7 separate regions of the Homo sapiens genome follow, and regions 1, 3, 4, 5, 6 and 7 are each linked to region 2. Evidence: promoter capture Hi-C in 16 types of primary human blood cells and fetal thymus (Javierre and others, 2016). All regions are on one chromosome and are shown on one strand. Each heading gives the region's core, a stretch centred on a gene start or on the middle of the fragment in contact. The rest is flanking DNA. Distances are from core to core; before and after follow the strand shown. Region 1 overlaps CATSPERB (catsper channel auxiliary subunit beta). Region 2 holds the start of FBLN5 (fibulin 5). Region 3 overlaps PPP4R3A (protein phosphatase 4 regulatory subunit 3A). Region 4 overlaps CATSPERB (catsper channel auxiliary subunit beta). Region 5 overlaps LOC101928957 (a long non-coding RNA gene). Region 6 overlaps CATSPERB (catsper channel auxiliary subunit beta). Region 7 overlaps LOC101928957 (a long non-coding RNA gene).

What was found. Contacts are between HindIII fragments. The CHiCAGO score rates a contact against its expected background, and 5 or more counts as called.
Region 1: a contact is called between a fragment that was not itself captured here and the fragment with the promoter of FBLN5 in region 2, in 5 of 17 cell types (M1 macrophages, M2 macrophages, megakaryocytes and 2 more). The highest score is 9.6, in M1 macrophages.
Region 3: a contact is called between a fragment that was not itself captured here and the fragment with the promoter of FBLN5 in region 2, in 4 of 17 cell types (megakaryocytes, endothelial precursors, M1 macrophages and 1 more). The highest score is 5.8, in megakaryocytes.
Region 4: a fragment that was not itself captured here is called in contact with the fragment with the promoter of FBLN5 in region 2 in 3 of 17 cell types (M2 macrophages, M0 macrophages and M1 macrophages); the score reaches 7.5 in M2 macrophages.
Region 5: a contact is called between a fragment that was not itself captured here and the fragment with the promoter of FBLN5 in region 2, in 2 of 17 cell types (M1 macrophages and megakaryocytes). The highest score is 5.7, in M1 macrophages.
Region 6: a fragment that was not itself captured here is called in contact with the fragment with the promoter of FBLN5 in region 2 in 8 of 17 cell types (M2 macrophages, M1 macrophages, M0 macrophages and 5 more); the score reaches 13.6 in M2 macrophages.
Region 7: a contact is called between a fragment that was not itself captured here and the fragment with the promoter of FBLN5 in region 2, in 3 of 17 cell types (M2 macrophages, megakaryocytes and M1 macrophages). The highest score is 7.6, in M2 macrophages.

Annotation. Positions count from the first base shown.
Region 1 is chr14:91,624,874-91,628,724 of GRCh38, reverse strand. It overlaps CATSPERB (catsper channel auxiliary subunit beta), which reads left to right. Exons shown (of 27, transcript NM_024764.4): 18 at 3,718-3,851. Among named protein-coding and RNA genes, the nearest start is that of CATSPERB, 110 kb to the left of the region's middle. The HindIII fragment of the contact is 3,656 bases long and covers 1-3,303 here.
Region 2 is chr14:91,945,785-91,949,596 of GRCh38, reverse strand. FBLN5 (fibulin 5) reads left to right here and starts at 1,903. Exons shown (of 11, transcript NM_006329.4): 1 at 1,903-2,384. The coding sequence starts at 2,368. The HindIII fragment of the contact is 8,571 bases long and covers 1-3,812 here.
Region 3 is chr14:91,494,325-91,497,747 of GRCh38, reverse strand. The region is part of intron 1 of PPP4R3A (protein phosphatase 4 regulatory subunit 3A); the gene reads left to right. Among named protein-coding and RNA genes, the nearest start is that of PPP4R3A, 14 kb to the left of the region's middle. RefSeq lists a silencer at 15-178 and enhancers at 2,049-2,258, 2,740-2,889. The HindIII fragment of the contact is 1,641 bases long and covers 1,133-2,773 here.
Region 4 is chr14:91,670,249-91,673,719 of GRCh38, reverse strand. CATSPERB (catsper channel auxiliary subunit beta) reads left to right here. Exons shown (of 27, transcript NM_024764.4): 13 at 704-853. Among named protein-coding and RNA genes, the nearest start is that of CATSPERB, 60 kb to the left of the region's middle. The HindIII fragment of the contact is 5,418 bases long and covers 1-3,471 here.
Region 5 is chr14:91,526,963-91,530,416 of GRCh38, reverse strand. The region is part of intron 2 of LOC101928957 (a long non-coding RNA gene); the gene reads left to right. Among named protein-coding and RNA genes, the nearest start is that of PPP4R3A, 18 kb to the right of the region's middle. The HindIII fragment of the contact is 6,884 bases long and covers 1-3,454 here.
Region 6 is chr14:91,652,252-91,656,043 of GRCh38, reverse strand. The region is part of intron 15 of CATSPERB (catsper channel auxiliary subunit beta); the gene reads left to right. Among named protein-coding and RNA genes, the nearest start is that of CATSPERB, 78 kb to the left of the region's middle. The HindIII fragment of the contact is 2,277 bases long and covers 850-3,126 here.
Region 7 is chr14:91,570,353-91,573,783 of GRCh38, reverse strand. The region is part of intron 2 of LOC101928957 (a long non-coding RNA gene); the gene reads left to right. Among named protein-coding and RNA genes, the nearest start is that of PPP4R3A, 62 kb to the right of the region's middle. RefSeq lists an enhancer at 3,394-3,431. The HindIII fragment of the contact is 1,978 bases long and covers 323-2,300 here.

The sequences.
Region 1 (3,851 bases), core at 226-2,725, 320 kb after region 2:
AGAGGTTTAATTGACTCACAGTTCTGCATGGCTGGGGAGGCCATGGTGGAAGATGAAGGGGAAGCAAGGCACGTCTTACATGGCGGCAGGAGAAAGAGACAGTGCAGGGGAAACTGCCATTTTTAAAACCATCAGATCTCATGAGAACTCCCTCACTGTTATGAGAACAGCATGGGGAAAACCGCCCCCATGATCCAACCACCTCCCACCAGGTCCCTCCCTTGACACGTGGGGATTACAATTCAAGATGAGATTTGGGTGGGGACATTGAGCCAAACCATATCAGTATATGATGTAGAACATTTTTTGCTATAGTTACCTGCCATCTGCATATATTCTTTGGTGAGGTATCTGTTAAGGTCTTTGGCCCATTTTTTAAATCAGGTTGTACACTTTCTTATTGTTATATTATTAGAGATTTTTGTATTGTAGGAGATCAGATTATGCCAACCCAGAACCATGCAGTGGTGTGTGCCTGTAGGTGCAGCTACTACAGAGTCTGAGGCAGGAGGATCTCAAGTTCAAGCCTAGTCTGGGCAAAATAGTGAGACCTCCAATTTCCAAACAAAACAAAACAAAAAAACAAAGAATATGCCACTTTGGCATAAAGATTATTTGAGCTGAAGGAAATTAAGGAAAAACAAGCACAAGAAAAACTCTTTGCCCCCTCCCACCAGAAAGGGCAGAATGATTCTTAATCACTGAAGATAACTCTAGACTATATAAATATATATTTTTTTCTTTTTAGAGACAGATTCTCACTCTGTTACCCAGGCTGGAGTGCAGTGGTGCAATCATAGCTCACTGCAGCCTCGAACTCCTGGGCTCAAGCAATCCTCCTGCCTCAGCCTCCCATGTAGCTGGGACTACAGGCATGTGCCACCACACCCAGCTAGTTTATTTTATTTTTAAATGTTTTTAGAGGCAAGATCTCACTATGTTGCATCCAAGCTGGTCTCCAACTCCTGGCCTCAAGCAACCCTCCTGCCTCAGGCTTTCCTCCAGAGTAGCTGGGATTACAGGCACAAGCAACTCTAGACTATTAATAAACCCAGAGACACAAAGAATTTACAGAAGAAACCTTCTCAAAACAACCCTTATCTTCCATTAGTTCCCTCCATTTATTTACCTTCCACAGTTTGCTGACCCTAAAAACCTAAGCCCATTTTTCTTTGTCTTGTCACTTCTCTAAAAATTTGTTATGAAGCCCCATGTTCTAACTACCCTTTTTAGCTACTCATCACTGCTGTTTTTCCTGCATGTAAGCACAATGCACATGTTAATAAATTCCACCTGTTTTTCTCTTGTTAATCTGTATTTGTCAGTATAATTGTCAGGGTCTCAGTTACAGAACCAAGGAGAATAGAGGAAAAAGAGGTTTCTTCTCCCTTCCCCTACAGTTTATTTTGGATAACAGTCCTTTATATGTCTTTTGAAAATATTTTCTCCTAGTATGTGGCTTGTCTTCTAATTCTCTTGACAGGATATTTCAGAGTGTAAGTTTGTAATTTTAGTAAGGTACCAATTACTAATGAGAGATACATGCAAACCATAGCATGTATTTTTAACACAAATTCAGTGTTCACTGCTTAACACTGTCATTTAAAAATCTTTACTAATTGGTTAAAAATTGTATCCCATTGTTGTAATTGCAATTTCTTCTATTACAAATGAGGTCGACCAAATGTTAATCAAATGTTTGTTAGCTATTTTTGGTATATTTTGTTTATAAACTATTTGTTCATAAATTGGTTCATGTAATCCACTGTTTTATCCAAATTACTTAATGGTTTTACTTGTGTTTAGGAAAACTGGAGAGAAATTTATCAATTTTCTCTTTCATGGATTGTGTCTTTGGTGTTGTATTCAACAGTCATTGCATGAAGATGGTAAATTTTGTTAGGTGTATCTTCTTAGTCTGTTTCATGCTGCTATAATAGAATATCACAGACTGGGTAATGTATAAAGAAAAGAAATTTATTTCTTACAGTTCTGGAGGGTGGGAAATCCAAGACTGGGGGGCCCACATCTGGTGAGGGCCTCATGCTCCGTCATCCCATGGTGGAAGGCAGAAGGGTGAGCACATGTGAGCACGCATATGAAGCACTCATGTGCAAAAGAGAGAGAGAAAGACAGGGGGAGGGAAGGGACTGAATTCATTCTTTTATCAGGAACCCACTCACACAATAATTAACCCACTCCTGCAATAATGGCATTCATCCATTCGTGAGGGCAAAGCCTCATGATCTAATCACCCCTTAAAAGTCCCACCTCTCAGGTTGCAGTGAGCTGAGATGGCGCCACTGCACTCCAGGCTGGCGGCAGAGCAAGACTCTGTCTCAAAAAAAAAAAAAAAAAAAAAAAAGTCCCACCTCTCAACACTCTTGCATTGGAAATTGTGTTTTCAACACATGAACTTTGAGGAATACATTAAAACCATAGCATATATTTTAACATAATTTTTTTAATTGAGGGAAAAAAGTAATTGCCATACCCAAGGTCATCTAGATTTTCTCCTATGTTATCTTCTTAGGAGTTTTATAGTTTTACATTTTATATTTAAGTCTGTGGCCCATTTAGAGTTCTTTATTTTCTTTTTTGAGACAGGGTCTGGCTCTGTCACCCACGCTGGAGTGCAGTGGCACTATCTCAGCTCACTGCAACCTCCACCTCACAGGCTCAAGTGATCCCACTGCCTCAGCCTCCTGAGTAGCTGGGATTACAGGCATGTGCCACCATACCTGGTTAATTTTTGTATTTTTAGTAAAGATAGGGTTTCACCATGTTGCCTAGGCTGGTCTTGAACTCCTAGGCTCAACCAATCTGCCTGCCTCAGCTCCCAAAGTGCTGGGATTACCGGTGTGAGCCACTGCACCCGGCCTAGAGTTAATTTTTGTGATGATTGTAAGATCTGTGTCTAGATTGAATTTTTTGCATGTGGATATGCAAGGCTAACATTTTAGAAACAGATTGTTTTCCTGGTTATAAAGTTAATACATGCTCAGTATAGAAATTTCCTAAAAGGCAGAAAAATATTAAGATAATTGAAATTATGACTGTTAACACTTTGATGAACTGCCAATTAGTCCTTTTTATATGCATTTTAACATTTTTCCACTTGCTTTCTTCATTTGGACATTATAATATGATCATTTTCCCTACACTGTTAAAAACTCTTTCTAAACACCCTTTTAATCATTGCATTTTCTCTAAGTAAATCATGTAATATCATTCACTTAGTTTTTTTATTGACATTTCTCATTTCTAAATTTTACCCTAATGAATATATTTGTATAGAAAGCTTTCTCCCCCACCCCTCTGTTTCAAGTTCTTTCCTTAGGATAGAGCCATAATAATAGACATGGAATCAGAGCAGGGAAAAGGTTAGCACGCTCCTAATGCATAATGTCAAATTGCTTTCCAGGAAGCTAGTTCTAATTTACAATCCCATCAGTAGTGGATGAATGCCTATCTTCACTCAATTCCCACCACTACTGAACCCTGTCATTTAAAGATCTTCGCTAATTTTAGAGGTTAAAAATTGTATCCCATTGTTATAATTGCCATTTCATTGATTACTAATGGGGTTGAACAAATGTTAATCAAATATTTGTTAGTTATTTGTGGTATACTTTCTTTGTAAATTATTTGTTCATAAATTGGTTCATTTAATCCACTGTTTTATCCAAATTGCTTAATGGTTTTATTTGTTTTTAGGAAAACTGGAAGAGCTTACATAAGAAAGGTATTGCAACATACGACTCCTAAAGGATTTTTGTCCTCAGTTATTGCAGAAATGAAAGAGCCCTTTGGATTAGAAGAAGTGAATGAGAGCTCTTGTTTGTCTAGTT
Region 2 (3,812 bases), core at 654-3,153:
CCACCATACTCCAGCCTGGGCGAGAGAGTGAGACTCCATCTCAAAAAAAGGAACCCTAGTCTCCCTCTCTCCATCATGTGAGGACATAGCAAGAAGACAGTCATCTGCAACCAGGAGAGGACCCTCATGAGAACCTGGCTATGCCCACACCCTGATCTCAGACTTCCAGCCTCCAGAACTGGGAGAGATAAATGTTATTGCATAAACCACCCAGTCTATGGTATTCTGTTATAGCAGCCTGAGCTAAGACCAATAATACTCATGGTTTCTTGTGCATCCTTCAGGTGATGTCTTTTCTGTACGTGTACAAGCAAGAACTTATGTATTTATTTTTTTTCCCACAAATGATGGCATGCTTTACACACAGTTCTGCAGCTTACTTTTTACATTTATTACTATATTAGATCAATCTATGTGAAATTACCAATATTCTACTGTTTTGACCCACAAAATATATTGGAAACCCTTCAATAGCAGTGCATACGGAGCTGTTTCAGTCTTTTTTTCAAAATAAGATATAACATACATAAGACTTCACAAATATTAAATGTACACACCCCTACATAACCAGCATCCAGATCAATCATTAGATTATTACCAGCACCCAGAAGGGGCTGGGCTGCCTCCCAGTCACTATCTGACTTTGAATTTTATATAAATGGAGTCGTTTGATGTGGACTCTTAAGTGTCTAGGTTTTAATTGGTTGCACAATAGTCCCTTTGGAAGCCCCTTACTTTATTTAACCCTATTGGTGCCTTGCTGATCGACCTTAAAGGTGTTTATAATCTTTTGCTTTTACAAACAATGGGGGGATGAACAACCTTATAAACATAAGGTATTTAAAAAAGTGTTTTACAGGAAATTTCAAACACGTAAAAGGAAATAGATTAGACTAGTATAATGGACACAGCTTCAACAACTATCCACATTCTGTTATTCTCCTTTGGGTAGAATTCCATTTACTTACCCCCAAAAATGCCTTAGGGAAGGCTAAATATGTAGACTCCAGAGGCTCAGCTGTACCAATGAATAGCTGCGTGACTATGGGGAGGTTACCTAACCTCTCTTATCTTCACCTCTAATAACATGGAGATGATCATTCCTACTGCTTAGAGTGGTGGTGAGGACAGGGGACCTGGATCAGGGCTTTTCGGCTGCAGGTAGGAAGATGCAGGTGGAAGCAGATGGGATAGGCCACAGTCCATCCACTGGCGTTTTATAGAGTGAGTGCCTTCTGTAAGATTTCATTGACAAAAGTACTCCAATGGCTTAAAAACAAACAAACAAACAAACAAACAAACAGGAAAAAGAAACAGGTTGAAGCCTCCACTAGAATGAATGCAAAGGACTCAGCATGTCTTATGTGCTGTCTCCACCATTCTGCTTTTCCAGACTGTCCCTTCTTCAAATCACCGTTTAACTTGTTAAAATCACTTTCGAGCCAGGGGACACTTTTCCAGGAAAGCGAGAAAATGCCAGGGAGAATCGGGGAATGAGGGCGGGGAGAGAAAAGCGTCCTAAGACTTGCATTGCACAAGCTGAAGTCTGGAATTCGCACCAGCGGGATTCCATCCTCTTCCCCCCCACCCCACCCCGCTGCTCCCCACCCCTTCTTCGGGAAGATCGCGACTCTCCCGTCGCTCGCCCCAAGCCTCTGCTTCGTAGGTTCTGGTTTCCCAATCGATCGTGAGTTTCTAGTCCCTGGAGCTGCGTGGGTCGTGAGTTCAAGTCCCTTTCCTTCCGGAGGCGACAACGTTCTCGCGGGTCCCCTTGCCACGCAGCGCGGGCGTGCACGCCCCTCCCCGCCGGGCCGCGCTGCCAGCCCCGCCCCGCCCCTGGGTGGGAAGGTCAAGGGGCCCGGGCCCTCCCAGCCCCCGCACCCCTGCGCGCGCCCGCCCCTCGCCTTCTGCCCGGGCGCTCGCAGCCGAGCGCGGCCGGGGAAGGGCTCTCCTCCCAGCGCCGAGCACTGGGCCCTGGCAGACGCCCCAAGATTGTTGTGAGGAGTCTAGCCAGTTGGTGAGCGCTGTAATCTGAACCAGCTGTGTCCAGACTGAGGCCCCATTTGCATTGTTTAACATACTTAGAAAATGAAGTGTTCATTTTTAACATTCCTCCTCCAATTGGTTTAATGCTGAATTACTGAAGAGGGCTAAGCAAAACCAGGTGCTTGCGCTGAGGGCTCTGCAGTGGCTGGGAGGACCCCGGCGCTCTCCCCGTGTCCTCTCCACGACTCGCTCGGCCCCTCTGGAATAAAACACCCGCGAGCCCCGAGGGCCCAGAGGAGGCCGACGTGCCCGAGCTCCTCCGGGGGTCCCGCCCGCGAGCTTTCTTCTCGCCTTCGCATCTCCTCCTCGCGCGTCTTGGACATGCCAGGAATAAAAAGGTGGGTTCTCGGCGCTGGACTTTTCTTTCTCCAGGGTCTGGAAGCCTTGCTAAAAATCCGATGGGTGGAAAATGGTTATGGCTGCGATTCAGGCGGTGTCAGGATATTGGAAAAGGCATGAGCTAGTGATGCAATGATATTGTTAATTATAAAAAGCTGCGCCTCTGTAATTTCCATCTTGAAGCGTTCTTTTGGGAGTGGGTATTTTCTAATACAGTTTCAAAAGCCAGCATCAGAGAGGGCTGCGAAATTCTCAGCGCTTCATTCCTCTTTCTTTTCTGGAAAGGGCAGCAACTTTGTCGTTTTAAGGGATTTTTGTATGTATTTTTTAAATTTCGGGAGGCCAATTACTAGTTCACTAGCAATTACTGCGCCGCATCGGCTGATAGACAAGCAGACAGGCTAGCTGAACACCGCGGGGCTGGATTTGCTCTATGTTTGTGTGGGATTCTCACAGAAGTTTCAAGCCAATGAGAAGTGGGAACTGCAGACAGAGATACATGTAAGCAAATGTTTTGCTATTCTTTAAGGAAATTGCAATTACAGTTAAGTAATCCTTAAGTCTTGGAGAACTTTACCTAAATGACACCCACAGTCTTTATTCAGCGAGCTCTTGAAAACATACTGCTTTGAACAAATTAACCTTGTGTGCGTATGTATGTGTCTGTGGGGTGTGTGTGTGTGTGTGTGTGTGCTGAAAACTAAGCTGTAACAATGTCATCCTGGATTGGGGACCAGCACTTCTGTGACAGGCAGTCCTGGTATTTGGTTGGTCTCTCCGGCTTTCCTTGTGTTTCAGGCTGAGGCACAACACCGGCGAACCCACCTGCTTTAGAAAGTTCCCAGGACCGGTTATGAGCACCAACCTGCCTCCCCCCAGCTATTCTTATAGTTAGTTCATTTTTGGAGTTTCCAGGGTTTTTTTTTTTTAATCACAAGGTGCAGCTATTCGTGATGCTGTGAGGCAGTAGTGCTTGGGTATTCTTTCATTTTAGGAAAATCCTATTAGCCTGGAACCTGTTTGGCCCCCAGGACTCAGCTGTGGCTCTTCCAAGAGGCTGGGCTTGAGGCAAGACCTGTCCCAGGGCTGCCTCTAGCCAAAGGGAATGGGGCTGCGGGGAGTAGGGGGAAAGATGGGGTTAGCATGCCTTTTCAACTAGCTCTTGAAGTCCACTGTGTTGCAGTCAGCCTGTTCTTTCTCCAACATAAACGAGACAGGGTTTTATAACCAACTGAAAGGAAACTTCATGTGAAGAAACAGGAAAACATTGAAATTCATAATACACAGACTGGAAAATAAATTTGTTATTGTTCTTTCATTCCTTCCAGATATAAATCTGGCCATGGCAAATATCAAAAAGCCCTGGGATTTGGCTCTGCACTTTATAAGGTCAGAGCTGTCTCCAGCGTTCTAGAATCTGGCTCACC
Region 3 (3,423 bases), core at 704-3,203, 450 kb after region 2:
AGAAGAATAGTTGGCCCAAAGAGTAGTATGTGTTTAAAAGTTGGGTAGGTGAAGATGATTCAATTTTCAGTCTTGGTACTGGTAAATGAGTATTAAGGACACCTTATTTTTTTGAGAAAGTCCAAGTGCACATATCAATTAGTAGACATTAGAACTTGTTAGGAATGATAGATTCCACAGTGGCAGATCTAATTGTACTGATGCATTCCACTTAGCTTGAGCACTCTCTTGATTTTCATTTTTCTCTGTGTTTCCTTTCTCATTCTTTCTCAAGTCTCAATATTGGAGTTTTCTTGAATTGGAGTGTAGGATTTCCTTTCCTTGGTCTTTGTGACAATGTCTTTCTCAGATGTGTGGGAAAAGGTATCGTGTGTGTGTGTGTGTGTGTGTGTGTGTGTGTGTGTGTAAATAAAAGATTCCTCTTGGGAGATAAGGGCATCTGTTTCATTGGAGAGGATAGATGTGTTTCTCAAATGAGTTGGGGTGAATGGGGTCTGTCTTGAGTGTGTGCTTCAGTTATTGAGTTCCACTAGACATAACTGTTATCAGAAACATGTTGCTCTTAGTTAGAACCTTCTCTGCCTCCCTCTTAATGTTGCTGAGGTCTCCTGCTAAGGATCATCATTTCTCGCCTGTCATCTCTGCTACCATGTTATTTAATAAATTCCTCTCCTAAAGTTGAGCTCTATATCCCCATCCATACCCATACCTTAGTAGGATAGAATTACTGTGCCTAATACTGTAGCTATAGCAACAAAATACAAACAAACTTGTTGGGGGTAAGGATTGTGTTAATTGATATTAACACTGAACTGGATCTGTTATAGTTGATTGGTTTAGTGTTTATAACTTGGCTCAATAAAACCTATTAGGTGATGGAGGGAAACCCAATAGACTAGGAATAAACCTAGTATTGTGTCTTTTATTTATTGTCTTACTGAGCCCTCAAGTTGAAAGACTTTCCGGTGTTCTAGCCTCTATAGCCTACTTATCTCTTTGGGAATATGGTATTGGGGATGAGAGCTGGACTTCCTAGACCAAAACTGTGATATGGCTGAAAAGAGAGTTTCAGGGGATACTTCCCTCTAATATCCTGAATAGACCAGAAAAACATTTCCCAACACTAGAAGCTTCTAGTGTGTCCTGTTTTAGCCAGAACTTTGGAAGGGAGTACGTCAAACCTTTTTTTCCCTCTTTCTTATTATCCTGATCCTGTAAACACTACTAAGAGAGTTTTGAAGAAAATGTAAAAGAGACTGGTACTTGAGAAATAATTGCTATTAGGGATTAGGTGGCTGACAATGTCATACCACTGCACTGCCGTGTTTTTTGTTTTAGTGACTGTAAAAATCAGGCGTGTGTTTCTTGAAAGCACAACTTGAATAACAACCTCAATCCCCTGTGCTATGTGTTTCTGACTTCTTAAACTTAAAAAAACTTTTGAATTGCAGTATAATACATCAAAAAGGTACACAAATCATAAGTATTCAATTTGATGAATTTTCAAAAAATAACCAGCACACCATTGAAAAAACAACATAACCACTACTCTGGAAGCCTACTTCAGGTTCCTCCCCAGTCACTATCCTACCCAGAGAAAACTGCTAGCCTAATGATAGGTTAATTTTGCCACTTTGTGAGCTTTGTGTAAATTGAATTCTATGGTTTATACCTTTGTCTCAGCTGTCTTTTACTCAGGTTTGTAAAATATCTGTTGTGTTTACTCTTTGATTCATATATTAACATTGTTCGTGGTATCCATTGTATGAATATTTATACTTTACAGTTTACCTTTTTGTGTGTGTGTGTGTGTTTTGTTTTGTTTTTTTGAGACTGGGTCTTGCTCTGTTGCCTAGGCTGGAGTGCAGTGGCATGATCTTGGCTCACTGCAACCTGCATTTCCAAGGCTTAGGCAATCCTCCCACCTCTGCCTCCTGAGCAGCTAGGACTACAGGCGTGCGCTGCCACACTTGGCTAATTTTTAAAATTTTTTTATAGAGACAAGGTCTCACTATATTGCCTAGGCTGCACTCCACCTGTTTTTTGTTTTTTTTTTAACAGTATTTACATACTATATAATTCACCAATTCAAAATGTACAATTCATTGTTTTTTAGTATAATCACAGGTTTGCAACCATCACCACAATCTAATTTTAGAACATTTTGTCTCCTCTGAAAAAAATCATGTGCCCATTAGCAATCACTACCCACTTTCACTTCCTCCCAGCCCTAAACAACCACTAATCTATTTTCTGTCTCTAAATTTACCTATCTGGACTGGGAATGTGCCTGTAGTCCCAGCTACTCAGGTGGCTGAGGCAGGAGAATTGCTTGAACCCAGGAGGCAGAGGCTGCAGTGAGCTCAGATCACGCCACTGCACTCCAGCCTGGGCGACAGAGAGACTGTCTAAAAAAAAACATACACACACACACACACACACACATTATGTATCTGGACATGTGGTATTTTATGATGGGCTTCTTTAATTTCATATGTTTTCAAGGTTTATACATATTGTAATGTGTTAGGTTTTCATTACTCTGTGTAGCTGAGTATATGCCACATTGAATTTATCTGTTCATTTTTTGCTGTTGTAAATAACCTTGCTGTGAATATAAATGTACAAGTTTTTGTCTGGGCATGTATTCATTTCTCTTGGATATATACCGAGAAGGGAAATTGCAAGGTAACTGCTTAACTTTTGAAGGAACTGCCAAACTTTTCCAAAATTGATGCCTCATTTTATATTCCCAGAAGCAATGTATGAAGCTTCCCATTTCTCTACAGCCTTGTCACCGCTTGTTATTGTCTTGTCTTTGATTGTAGACATTCTAGTGGGTACTAAATGGTATCTCATTTGTGGTTTTGGTTTTTGTTTTCATTTGAGACAGAGTCTCTGTCGTCCAGGCTGGGGTGCAGTGGTGCAATCCTGGCTCACTGCAACCTCCACCTCCCAGGTTAAAGTGATTCTCCTGCCTCAGCCTCCTGAGTAGCTGGGTTTAAAGACATGCACAACGATGCCCAGCTAATTTTTTGTGTGTCTTTAGTAGAGATGGGGTTTCACCATTTTGGCCAGGCTGGTCTCGAACTCCTGACCTCAAGTGATCCACCTGCCTCAGCCTCCCAAAGTGCTGGTATTATAGGCGTGAGCCACCGTGCCTGGCCCTTATTTGTGGGTTTGATTTGCATTTCCTTAATGACTAATGCTGAGCATCTTCTCATATGCTTACTAGTTTTTTGTATATCCGTTTTGGATAAATTTCTATTCAAATTCATTGCCCACATTTTAATATTGAGTTGTAAGAGTCCTTTATATATTCCGGATACAAGTCCTTTACCAGATATATGCTTTCCAAATCTTTTCTCTCATTCTGTGGGCTTTCTTTTTACTTGATGGTATTGTTTGCAGCACAAACAAATT
Region 4 (3,471 bases), core at 104-2,603, 280 kb after region 2:
GTAGAGACAGGGTTTCACCATGTTGGCCAGGATGGTCTTGATCTCTTGACCTCGTGACCCACCCCCCTTGGCCTCCCAAAGTGCTGGGGTTACAGGCGTGAGCACCAAACCCAGCCACATTAAGGATTTTTTAAAAAACAATTGTGATCAGTCAGAGCAACACTATGGTTGTTAATTTATTTTCCTACTGTTACTAAAACACCAGGGATTCAGTCTAGGTCCTGCTGCTTGCTGTATAGACTGCCAGTCACTGAGTCAACAAGTATTGCCAGGGAGAAGGCTTTAATCAGGTGCTGCAGCCAAGGAGAATGGTAGATAAAAATCTCAAACCTGTCTCTCTGAGTAAAATTGGGGGATTTACACAGAAAGGAAGGTAGGAAAACAGGAATTAGAGATGGGTGAAGAAGCAATCATGATGGATGAGGAGTCTGACTTCTCATTATCTGGGTGCAGTGATCCGTTGAGTTTCAGTTCCTTGCCTAAGGGTCGATTTCCTAAAGAAGGAATTCAGATGAGAAAAACGTTTTAAGACCAGGGAGTTTAAAGACCAGTGGGTTTTAAGACCAGGGAGGGAAGGTTAATTTCTATGTTTGTTCAAAAAACTGTAAATATTACTTCTATGAACAAGTGGGCTAGTTTCACTAAGAGAATTAGAACTTATATTTCAAAAACAGCATTAATTTTTCCCTTCTTTTTTTTATAGTCAAGCTCTTGTTTTTATAGTCAGGAACCATTTCTTGAATGGGTACCCTGCTTACCTCACATTTTTAAAGGAATAAAAATTTTTCCAACTGTGCTAACATTTCTTGTTGACCAAGAGCGTGGTACTGGAGTTTACCTCTTCTATAACAAGGTAGGCCTTATATCCCAGAGGGAATTTATCTTGACATGACAACAATAAAAATTTACCTTAGCAAAAGTTATTTTCAAGTTCTTGTTATGTCTGGCAATAGAACCTATAAAATTGGCTATAGCAAAATTATTTAAAATCAATAATATAGCTTGACACTTTAGAGATTTCTCACCTGGTCGTCATTCATTTTGATGAAAATGGAAAACGTGATGCTGTATGCATAGTGATTCTCCCTTGCTAATTCTCTAAAGAATATAAGCTGGGATTTTTCTATACAAATTTAAGATTCCATAAAATGGTTAATTAAACAGAAAAAAAAATGGAAGTAATTGCCACAGATCTATATTTTTTTCTTCCAAACGTCCTTAACCCTACCTGTGAATTAGAATTCTTCTTAGAGCCATTAAAAAACACATAAACTGACAGTTGTGATGGCTCATGCCTGTAATCCCAGCAACTCGGGAGGCTGAGGCAGGAGGCTTGAGGCCAGGATTTCAAAACCACAGTGAGGCACTACTGCACTCCAGCACACCAGGTGAGGTGACAGAGCAAAATCCAGTCTGAGAAAACAAACAAGCAAGCAAACAAAAAAACAAACAAACAAATAAAACCATAAGTTCGGCCCCTATCGTCAAGATTGTAGGGAAGGAAAAAGCTCTTTCCTCCATCTTCGTATGTTCAATGAGTGGAGCCTTGCAAATTAAACTGAAAAAAAAATATTAATAGGAGAAAACAGTTTATTTACATGTGCAGTGTGCACACATGGGAAACTCAGTGATGAGGTTAAAATTTGGAAGTTAGGTACCATCTTTTTGTTGTTGTTGTTGTTGTTGTTGTTGTTGTTTTTGAGACAGAGTCTCCCTCTGTTGCCCAGGCTGGAGTGCAGTGGTGCAATCTCGGCTCACTGCAAGCTCCGCCTCCCGGGTTCACGCCATTCTCCTGCCTCAGCCTCTCCGAGTAGCTGGGACTACAGGCGCCCGCCACCATGCCTGGCTAATTTTTTGTATTTTTAGTAGAGGCAGGGTTTCACCGTGGTCTCGATCTCCTGACCTCGTGATCTGCCCGCCTCGGCCTCCCAAAGTGCTGGGATTACAAGCGTGAGCCACCGAGCCTGGACGGTTAGGTACCATCTTAATAGGTGAAGGGGAAAGGGAGAAAACCATTTATGGAAAAACAAATTGCTTTTAAAAAAAAAGAAAAAAAGATAAATGGGTTTTCAGGACAGCAAACAGGAGATACGATTTTTTTTTGTTGGTTGGTTTTTTGGGGTTTTTTTGAGATGGGGTCTCGCTCTGCTGCCCAGGCTGGAGTGCAATGGTGCAATCTTGGCTCACTGCAACCTCGGCGCACTGCAACCTCTGCCTCCCAGGCTCAAGCGATTCTCCTGCCATAGCCTCCCAAGTAGCTGGGATTACAGGTGCCCACCACCACACCTGGTCAATTTTTGTATTTTTTAGTAGAGATGGGGTTTTGTCATGTTGGCCAGGCTGGTCTTGAACTCCTGACCTCAAGTGATCCACCCACGTTGGCGTCCCAAAGTGCTGGAATTGCAGGCATGAGCCACAGCGCCTGGCCAGGAGATATGAAAGTTTTTGATAATGTTTGTAAATCTAGGTATGAGTGGTCTTTCCTTCTCCTTCAGGGGTATAAAACTCCTCTGGAGAAGGGATTTGGGACAGGTTTTATTTACATTCTTCCTTCTAGGAGTAGATCTGCCCCAAGGAGGAATTTCTGTCAGCCTCATTTCCCAGCAGTTCCTGCTTTTAGTCAGACACAAAAGGCTCCAAAGTTTTTTCTCTGCATCTGTTGAATCTCAACAGTCTTCAGCTTAAAATTATCCTTATATAAAAGTGGCATTTTTTTGTTTTGAGACAGGGTCCCTGTCACCCAGGCTGGAGTGCAGTGGAGCGATCTTGGCTCACTGCAACCTCTGCCTCCCGGTTTCAAGAGATTCTCCCACCTCAGCCTCCCAAGTAACAGAAATTACAGGTGTGTGCCACCACGCCAGCTAATTTTTGTATTTTTAGTAGAGACAGGGTTTTGCCATGTTGTCCAGGCTGGCCTCGAACTCCTGGCCTCAAGTGATCCACCCAGTTCGGCCCCCCAAAGTGCTGGGATTATAGGCGTAAGCCACTGCGCCTGGCCAAAAGTGGCATATTTTGAGGTTTCATATCTCTTTTTTTTTTCTTTTGAGATGGTCTCACTCTCACTCAGGCTGGAGTGCAGTGGTGTGATCATAGTTCACCACAGACTCTAACTCCTGGCTCAAGCGATCCTCTGCCCCAGCCTGATTAGTAGCTGGGACTACAGGTTCATGCCACCATGCCTGGCTAATTTTTAATTTTTTTTTTTAATGCAACTGGGTCTCACTTTGTTGACCAGGCTGTTCTCAAATGCCTAGGCTCAAGCAATCCTCTCACATAGGCCTCCCAAAGTGCTGAGATTACAAGCCACTTTTATATAAAGATAATTTTAAGCTGAAGACTGCGCCTGGCCTGAGGTGTCATATTCTGATCCCATTTAAAATAATGGTTGAATAGAACTGGGGTGTGGCTTAGGCATCCACACTTTTGGCATGATAGTCATAAGCATGGGCTTTGGAGTCTGTCTGGCAAGTT
Region 5 (3,454 bases), core at 297-2,796, 420 kb after region 2:
TGATTTAGTTCATAAGAAATTAACCATAAGTAAGAGAAAACTGAAATTCATTTACAGCTATGCTGAGGGACTGCCAAATTAGACACTGAGAGTTGACATTTATGTTCTCGGTGTCTTTAAAAAAAATTTTTTTTTGTACAGATGATTTCTACGTTACCTAGTCTGGTCTCAAACTCCTGGGCTCAAGTGATCGTCCCACCTTGGCCTCCCAAAGTGTTGGGATTATAGGCATGAGCCACCACATCCAGCCCCTCAGTGTCTTTTGATTTGGATGTTTGCTGAAACTCTTCTATAAAATGAGAAAAATAACATTTCTAACATAGCTTTGACTTTGTTCTTTCTTAGATTTTTTCTTAAGAATTCTGAGTTGTGTCTAATATCAAAATTTGCAATACAAATAGAGATTTCTCTTTTAAAATAAAGGCCAGGCGTGATGGCTCACACCTGTAATCCCAGCACTTTGGGAAGCCGAGGCAGGCGGATTCCCTGAGGTCAGGAGTTCGAGACCAGACTGCCTGGCCAACATGGTGAAACCCTGTCTCTACTAAAAATACAAAAATTAGCCAGGTGTGATTACGTGCACCTGTAATCCCAGCTACTTGGGAGGCTGAGGCAGAAGAATCGCTTGAACCCGAGAGGCAGAGGTTGCAGTGAGCCGAGAGCACACCACTGCACTCCAGCCTGGGCAACAGAGTGAGACTCTGTCTCAAAAAATAATAATAAAATAAAATTCATATCTGCCTAAGTTTTGAGAAGGCTGTCAGGAGTAAAAGCTCGTGTGCATCTTCCCTGCTCTCATCTGAGTAGAACAGATCCCTTTTAGGTCATGTTAAATCTGCATTTTCTTTTATGTGTGCACCCTACAGACCCCCCAGTCCTGAAATGTACCCAGATTAATATCTTTGATGTCCAGATCACAAAGGGCTTCTTATTTTCAGGGTGTTCTTTGTGATAGATCATCTTTTCAGACTATCTATCTTTTGGCAAAAAGGAAATAACTTATAAGTATTTTCTGAATGTACAAACACATTCATGCATTCATTACTCTCAATTTCTTTTTCCACCTTTTGAAAACCAATACAGGTAGAATAGGAAGCCAAGGATGATGGTGTTAATATGTAAATATTAAAAATTTTTATTTAGCTATTTTAAAATCAAATCAAATGGTCCAGGTGCGGTGGCTCATGCCTGTAATCCCAGCACTTTGGGAGGCCGAGGTGGGCGGATCGCAAGGTCAGGAGATTGAGACCATCCTGGCTAACATGGTGAAATGCCGTCTCTACTAAAAAATACAAAAAATTATCCCGGTGTGGTGGCGGGCACCTCTAGTCCCAGCTACTCAGGAGGCTGAGGCAGGAGAATGGTGTGAACCCGGGAGGCGGAGCTTGCAGTGAGCCGAGATCGCACCACTGCACTCCAGCCTGGGTGACAGAGCGAGCGAGACTCCACTCCGTCTCAAAAAAAAAAAAAAAAAATCAAATCAAATGTATGATTGTGACTTAATTTTTGTCATTTCAAATAATCTTTCTAACTCTGTGTTTGAGAAGAATATGCTTATCCTTAAATGATGCAAACATTCTATACCTTACCCCCAGCCACAGTGGTTAGGGTAATACTTAGAGAAAAGCCAGGCCACTCAAATACACTGCCTGGATTTTTCAGATTGTCACGGGGTGAGAAATGCTTTTAACTCCTGAACATCAAATTTAGAAGGATGAGGTATAGGGCTGCATATAACCATGACCCCCGACTGCCACTCACAATGTGGGCAAATATGTCTGCATCAGAGAGAAGAAAGCAGAACATTGTGTGGGGATCCCAGTTATCCTCCAAACCAGACGAGTGTCTTTCTGGGGTCTGTTAGGAAGTGAGATAAGGGGCTGCGCATGGTGGCTCACACCTGTAATCCCAACACTTTGGGAGGCTGAGGTGGGAGGATTGCTTGAATCCAGGAGTTCAAGACCAGCCTGGCCAACAGGGTGAAACCCTGTCTCTACACACACACACACACACACACACACACACACACACACACACAAATTAGCCGGGTGTAGTGGTGCATGCCTGTGGTACCCGTTGCTCAGAAGGCTGAGCTGAGAGGCTGAGGCAAGAGGGTCACTTTAGCCCAGGAGTTCAAGACTCCTGAGCTATGATCATGCCACTGCACTCCAGCCTGGGCAACAGAGCAAGACCACGTGTCTACATTTAAAAAAAAATTAATAAGGAATTGAGATGAACTGATTCTTTTAATCTACACCCTACCTCAACCTCTCTGAAATTTATTTTGTATTATTGGCTGTAAATGCAATCTCTTTCCTTATAACTCTATGGGTTAACATCATCTAAGGTGATTTTTAAACTTGTTATCAAGTTCTTTCACATTTGTCCCATCAGAAGTGAAGTCTCTATTCCCTCCTGTTAAATCTGGGCTGGCTTTGGTGACTTGTTTGTACCCAATAAAATAAAGCATAAATGATGCTGTGTGACATTGGAGGCTAGGTCAGAAAAGACCATGCAACTTCTGCCTGGTTCTCTTGGAATGCTTTCTGTAGGGAAAGCAGCCACCATGTAGAAGTCTAACTCCCCTCTCAAAAAGGCCATGCATACCTGTTCTGGCAGACAGGCCTGGCTGAGCTCCCAGCCAACAGCCAGTATTCCCTGCAAGCCATGTCAGTGTTTCATCGTAGACATTCACAGCCCAGTTGAGCGTTCGGATGACAGCAGCACAGCTGACATCTGACTGCAACTACATGAGAGGCCTCAAATGAGAACTGCCCAGCAAAACCCTTCCCCAATACCTGACTCACAAAATTGGGAGCAAAATAAAATGCCTACTTTAAACCACGAAGTTTAGAGAGACTTTGTTACAGAGTAATAGTAACTAGAATGTATCTTTGCTTGGGCAATTGATTCCAATCTCAAAGTAATGGCAGTAGTGGTACATTTTCCATGGATGGAATGGATGAGATCTAAATGCTATGTGTTTTCTTAAAAACTTCTGCTGATATGCTCCTTACGTATTATAAAACTCTTTTCTTAACAGCTACAATGACTATATGAAATGTATTTATTTTTTATTTTTTGAGACATGGTCTTTGTCTGTCACCCAGGCCAGAGTGCAGTGACATGATCATAGCTCACTGCAGCCTCAAATTCCTGGGCTCAAGCAATCCACCTGACTTAGTCTCCTGAGTAGCTGGGACTACAGGCTTGTGCTATTATGCTCAACTAATTTTTTTATTTTTATTTTTATTTTTTGTAGAGATGGGGTCTCCTTCTGTTGTCCAGGCTCACCTCAAACTCGAGACCTCAAGTGATTCTCCCACCTCACCCTCACAAAGTGCTGGGATTACAGGCATGAGCCACCACACCTGGTCTGAAATGGATTTTTGAGCACAGTCTAGATCTTAAATGTCTGACTCTGGTTCCAAGATTTGATTTGTCAAGTATAGAT
Region 6 (3,792 bases), core at 739-3,238, 290 kb after region 2:
TACGTCATGCCACTTTTTCCTGGCCTGTAAGGTTTACACTGAAAAGCCTGTGCCAGATATATTGGGGCTCCTTTGTATGTTATTGATTCTTTTCTCTTGCTGCTTTTAGGATCCTTTCTTTATCCTTGACCTTTGGGAGTTTCATTATTAAATGCCTTGAGGTCATCTTCTTTGGCTGAAATCTGTTTGGTGTTCTGTTACCTTCTTGTGCTTGGATATTGATATCTTTCTCTAAGTTTGGGAAGTTCTCTGTTATTACTCCTTTGAATAAATGTTCAATCCCTATCTCTTTCTCTACTTCCTCTTTAAGGCCAATAACTCTTAGATTTGCCCTTTTGAGGCTAATTTCTAGATTTTACAAGCATGCTTCATTCCTTTTTATTCTTTTTTCTTTCATCTACTCTAATTGTGTATTTTTAAGTGGGTTGTCTTCAAGCTCACTAATTCTTTATTCTGCTTTATCAATTCTGCTATTAAGAGACTCTGATAATTCTTCAGTATGTCAATTGCATTTTTCAGCTCCAGAATTCTGCTTGATTCTTTTTAATTGTTTCAATCTCTTTGCTAAATTTATCTGACAGGATTCTGGATTCCTTCTCTATATTATCTTGAATTTCCTTGAGTTTTCTCACAACAGCTATTCTGAATTCTCTGTCTGAAAGGTCACATATCTCTGTCTCTCCAAGATCGGTCTCTGGTGCCTTATTTTGTTCCTTTGGTGAGGTCATGTTCTCCTGGATGGTCTTGATGCTTCTGGACATTGATTGGTGTCTGGGGATTAAAGAGTTTGGTATTTATTTTAGTTTTCACAGTCTGGGCTTGTTCGTACCTGTCTTTCTTGGGAAAGCTTTCCAAGTATTCAAAGGGACTTGAGTGTTGTGATCTAAGTCTTTGCTCACTGCAGCTGAATCTGCATTAGGAGGTACCTCAAGCCCAGTAATGCTTTGGCTATTGCCAACTTGTAGAAGTACTGCCTTGGTGGTCTTATGTAAGATCCAGGAGAACTTGTATTACCTGTATTACCAGGTATTACAGGAAGAGACTGTATTACCAGGTATTACAGGAAGAGACTGTATTACCAGGAAGAGACTTTTGTTCTCTTACCTTACTTTCCACCAAACAAATAGTGTCTCTTTCTCTGTGCTAAGCTGCCTGGAGCTAGGGGAGGGGTGATGCAAGCACCCTTGTAGCCACCACCACTAGGACTGCACTGGGTCAAACCCAGAGCCAGCACAGCACCAGGTCTTGCCCAAGGCCCACAGTTTCCACTGCCTGGCTACTACCTATGTTCACTCTAGGCCCAAGAGCTCTATAATCAGCAGGTGATGAGTCCAGCCAGGGTTATGATCTTCCCTTCAGGGCAGTGAGTTGCCCCCAGCCCCAGCTAGGTCCAGAGATGCCATCTGGAAGCCAAGGAAGTTGAGACCCTTAGAGTCTATGTGGTATTCTATTCTATTGCGGCTAAGCTGGCACCCAAGCTGCAAGACAAAGTCTTTCTTACTCTTCCCTCCTTTATCCTGAAGCAGAGCAGTCTCTCTCCATGGCCACCACCACCCCAAGCCCATGGCAATTACCCCCTGGCTACCGCCACTATTCACTCAAGGTCCAAGGGCTCTTCAGTCAGCTTCTGGTGAATGCTGCCAGTCCTGGATTTCTCCTTTCAGGGCAGTGGCCCCACTCTGGCCCAGGGCAGGTTTAGAAATGCCACACAAGAGCCAAGTCCTGGAATCAGAGACCCCAGGAGCCCACTTCGTGAATTGTCCACTGTGGCCAAGCTGGTACCCAAGCTGATTTCTGGTTCTTATAAAGGTGCTTTCTTGTGTGGATCATTGTTCAATTTGATGTTCCTGCAGGGGTGGATAATCACTGGAGGCTCTATTCAGCCATCTTGCTCTGCCTCCTCTCTATAATCCCTCTTTTTCTAATCTTCCCTACTCCCCTCCTCTACTCACCCACCTCCTTCTTTATCCCTTTTCCTTCCTTCTTCTTCTGTTCTTCCCACTCTTCCTGTTTCCATCAAGTTCATCATTAAAGGTGCAGCACTGGTCAGATCTTCTATTTGCTCTAACATAGTGTAGGTGAATTATTCTTGAGACCCATCTGCTTCACCTCATTTAGATAGGACTTGGACCCATTTTCTCAACTCAGTAAAGTGCCTTGGAAAGTGGTAAACCTGGCTTCACTTATGAGGGCTTGATTTTTCCCTTTACTTTTCCTTTTGATATCTTCTCATCCACTGTCACCTTCTTATATGGTTTGGCTGTGTCCCAACCCAAATCTCAACTTGAGTTGTATCTCCCAGAATTCCCACATGTGGGAGGGACCCAGGGGGAGGTAATCAAATCATGGGGGCTGGTTTTTCCTGTGCTATTCTCATGATAGTGAATAAGTCTCACAAGATCTTATGGGTTTATAAGGGGTTTCCGCTTTTGCTTCCTCCTCATTTCTCTCTTGCTGCAACCATGTAAGAAGTGCCTTCCACCCTCTGCCATGATTGTGAGATCTTCCCCAGCCATGTGGAACTGTAAGTCTAATTAAATGTCTTTCTTTTGTAAATTGCCCAGTCTCGGGCATGTCTTGATCAGCAGCATGAAAAGGGACCAATACACCTTCTTACTTGTTAGAAGGGTATAACCGAGAGCCTTCAGGATTTTGTTGATTTACCTTCCTTCTCTCAATATTGCCTCAACAATGAACTATTATAGATTATTGGGTAACTTTTGAGATTGAGGTAGACTTGGAGATATCTTATTAGGTCTAACAGAAATTAGAAAAACACTGTCACCAAGACAAGACAGAGGCTGTGTTTTTTTGTTTGTTGTTTTTAACACACAGCATTTTTTATTGTATAGTTTAAAATTTCTTCTGATCTCCAGTTTCTTCTGATCTTCAGTCTCTGATACGATTTTAAATGACGAAGTTTCTGATATAACTTCAAAAAGCATGGTTTTGCAGGCCTCAATATTTTGTCCTTGATGTTCACCAGCAAAAGCAGTTTTACAGTTATACAATCTCCTCTATTGGTCCTTCCTTGTTTGAGAATAAGGACAGACCACAAAATCCTGATGCTATTTCTCCAGATCTTCACCACTCAGTTTATTTATTCTCTATTCTGTCAATAAAGCTTTTGTTTAACTTATGTCAGTATCAAGATTAATCCATGTGGTTTGTATGTCTGAATCATGTGTTGAGACAGCAGCTGTGTCAACCTAAGATTCTGGTGATCAGACTTTATATGATTGTGAAATAAATGAAAGTAATTGTGAATATTGTTAGGAGCACAATGTTGAACGTTTCCAGTATTCCAGAAAGCTCCCTCTTGCCTCTTGCTGCATTTCTTTTTTTTTTTTTTTTTTTTTTTTTTTTTTTTTTTGAGACAGAGTCTTGCTCTGTTGCTCAGACTGGGGTGCAGTGGTATGATCTCAGCTCACTGCAACCTCCGCCTCCCGGGTTCAAGCGATTCTCCTGCCTCAGCCTCCCGAGTAGCTGGGATTACAGATACCCGCCACCATGCCCAGCTAATTTTTTTTTTTTTTTTTGTATTGTTAGTAGAGACAGGGTTTCACCTTGTTGGCCAGGCTGGTCTCAAACTCCTGACCTCAAATGATCTGCCCATGTAGGCCTCCCAAAATGTTGGGATTACAGGCATGAGCCACTGTGCCCAGCCTAATGGTATTTCACTGAAGATTTAGTTTGCATGAGTAATAATGTTAAGTATATTTTCATGTGTTCATTTTTATATCCTTTTTTGTAAATTCTTTTCAAGTCTTTTTTGAATGAAGTTTTGATTTG
Region 7 (3,431 bases), core at 62-2,561, 380 kb after region 2:
AGCCTCCTCCTTCCTGCCAGCCTCTTTCTCCCTACCAACCTCCTCCTCTCCTGTCAGCTTCCTCCTCCCTGCCAACCTTCTGTCCTGCCACCCCCCTCTTCCCTGCCAGTCTCCCCCTCTTCTGCCAGCCTCCTCCTCCCCTGCCAGCCTCTTCCTTCTCACCAGCCCCCTCCTCCCTTTTCATCTAAGATCATTTGACCTGTCATTCAAGGCCTAGTTGAAATGTCACCTCTGTAGAAAAGTTTCTCCCCAGTTCTCTCTGATAGTTAGTTCTTTCTCTCCTTTGAGTGGGGTAGCATGGTGCACATTTCTATATCAAGCTTCTTGGCCCGGTTTTGGTATTTACATGCTTATCTCTCCCCTGCAATAGGGACAGTGCTAACTTTCTGTCACATTTCTTTTTAATGCCTTCCTAAAAGAGTGACCAACACATGGGTGATATTCAACAAATGATTGAAAAAGAAAAAACAAGAAAAAGAAAAATGCTGTTTATAATCAGGTTCAGGGGAGACTATGAGAATATAAATAAGACATAAGAACATCTTGTTATAAGAGAAGTTCATATAAAATACATTTCAGGCACAGACTAGACACTCAATAAATATTGCCTGAAAATGAATACAAAGAAAGAACTCAAAATAAGAGGCTTTGGGGAATCATTATATATATATAATTATAAGGGAATTGGTTTTTTTGGTCTCTAACTTTCTAACTTTCTAAGAGTAATAACTGGAAAATTTAGAAAATAAAAGTATGAAAAAAATATAAATCATACCACTTAAAATTTAGGCATACTTCTTAATCTTTTATGGTGTGTGTGTGTGTGTGTGTGTGTGTGTGTGTCCATACACATTAAACATACGTAATATAGATACATTAACTGGGTCTAAATGGAAAGGAAAGTAACATGAAGAGCTTGCTGCCATATGACATTCGTAATTTATTATATGTTGGTCTTTTTTTTTCTTTTTAAAAGTCTTTCCCTCTTTCCTTTGCATTTGAATATAGGTTGTTTGTTTTGTTTTGTTTTGTTTTTTGAGACGGAGTCTCACTCTGTGGCCCAGGTTGGAGTGGAATGACACGATCTCGGCTCACTGCAACCTCCACCTCCCAGGTTCAAGGGATTCTCCCACCTCAGCCTCCCAAATAGCTGGGATTACAGGCACCCACCATCACGCCAAGCTAATTTTTGTATTTTTGTAGAGACAGGGTTTCACCATGTTGGTTAGGCTGGTCTTGAACTCCTGACCTCAGGTGATCTGCCCACCTTGGCCTCCCAAAGTGCTGGGATTACAGGTACGAGTCACCATGTCTGGCCATATGTGGGTGTTTTCTAATTTAAAAAAAAAAAAAAAAAGGCTGGGCATGGTGGCTCATGCCTGTAATCCCAGCACTTTGGGAGGCCGAGGTGGGCGGATCACGAGGTCAGGAGATCGAGACCATCCTGGCTAACATGGTCAAACCCTGTCTCTGCTAAAAATACAAAAAATTAGCCAGGCGTGGTGGCGGGTGCCTGTAGTCCCAGCTACTCAGGAGGCTGAAGCAGGAAAATGGCATGAGCCTGGGAGGCGGAGCTTGCAGTGAGCCAAGATCGCGCCACTGCACTCCAGCCTGGGTGACACAGTGAGACTCGGTCTCAGAAAAAAAAAAAATTAAAAAAAAAGCAAAAATCAAAAGAAAACCCTCCTGGTTTTGTTCAATGTGAATTTTCTTAAAGATGCTTGCAATTACTGAACATGTTAGCTGGCAATAATGGCCTTTATGTTGATTTGTTTAGTTAAAATAATCTTTGCCCAGAGTCCCTACCTGTTAAAGGTTTACACCATTAGCAAGTTCAGGTTTTCTCTTCATTTGCTTGTTTTCATAGTGGTCACCAAAAACAAAAAGATATTTCATCTGAACTGCTTTGTTAAGAATATGGGTTTAAAAAGATATTTTTCTTGTCCTAGAAAAAATGAGAAAGCAATGATTTCTTTCCTTTGAGAATAACTCATGTTTTTGCCAGATACTGATAGTTTTTTTTTCCCTTTACCCTTGTAATTAAAATTATTTTTAGTGGGTGTCACTTAGAATCCAGGGAGCACTTTGTGTATCTTTAGATTTTTTTTTTGAAACTCAGACAAGTTTCCTTTGATGATGTATTTGAATAATATTATCTATGCATTGATTGTGTTGATGTCTTCTTTAACAGCCTCTATAAATTTCCTAGGTTGGTTCTCTATTCTCTGCCCTCCACACCTAAAGATATTCATTATTATGCATGATCATATGTAGATTAAAGAACAGAAAATTAATAAGCTTTATTATAAATACTTTAGTATCATTCATACTCACATGCTTTTCCTATGTTGTAAATTTACAGCAAAAATAAAGAAGGCCAAATTCATGCTTATCCTTTTAATTCAAGCATTTATCTTTAAAGGTAAAGAAGATACCACAAACATTTAATGAGCCCTTCCTATACTATGTGCTTATCACTTAACTATTCTAAATAATTTTGCAGTTAGGCTTGTAGCAAAGAAACTGATAATAATTTTAAATGATATTATGAGTATCACAATGGAGAAAAATAATCAGATAACTTATCTGACCATGGCTTAGGTTCTTCTCTTGGAAAAATATTTTTGGGTCAGACTGTGGTTGGTCCTTCTCTCTTTAATGCTCTTTCCCCTCTTTGGTCCTCAATTTAGAACTATTTATAGAAGCATCTATTATGATAGATTCTGTCTCTGCATAAGTGATTGTAATTAGCTATATCTCATGAAAGTTTCCTAGGATTGAATAAAATAGAGCCAGAGTTAGCAGCGGCTCAAGTCTGTAATCCCAGTACTTTGCGAGGCCCAGGCAAGAGGAGCATTTGAGGCCAGGAGTTCAAGAACGGCCTGGGCAACAAAGCCAGATCCCGTCTCTACAAAAAAATTAAAAAATTAGCCGGGTATGGTGATGTGCACCTGCAGTCCCAGCTACTTGGGAGACGAGGGCAGGAGGATTGCATGAGCCTGGGAGGTCAAGACTGCAGTGAGCCACAATCTCACCACTGCACTCCAGCCTGCGTGACAGAGTGAGATCCTGTCTCAAAAATAAATAAAAATAAAAATAATGTACTTTAAAAAAGAGAGGGAGCCAGCGCTCACTTTCTGATTTATCATCATGCCATTCATAAATCTCAGAAGCTACTGTTACAGTGAAGTATCTAATGATACTGATTCCTTCTGGTGAATTCTGTTCTGCTTTAATTATATTATATTACAATAAAGGGCATGTTTTTTCTTTTGGGATTTAAAAGAAAAATATTACCCCACTGACACAGATTGATCTATCTAAAATGAGTAGCACGTTCAAAAATTAGTTGTTTTTGTTTACAAAGATGGAATTGTCACCTTTATATGCCACAGCCTCAGTTTTGGAAGTATCTGGTTTTTTATATGGAG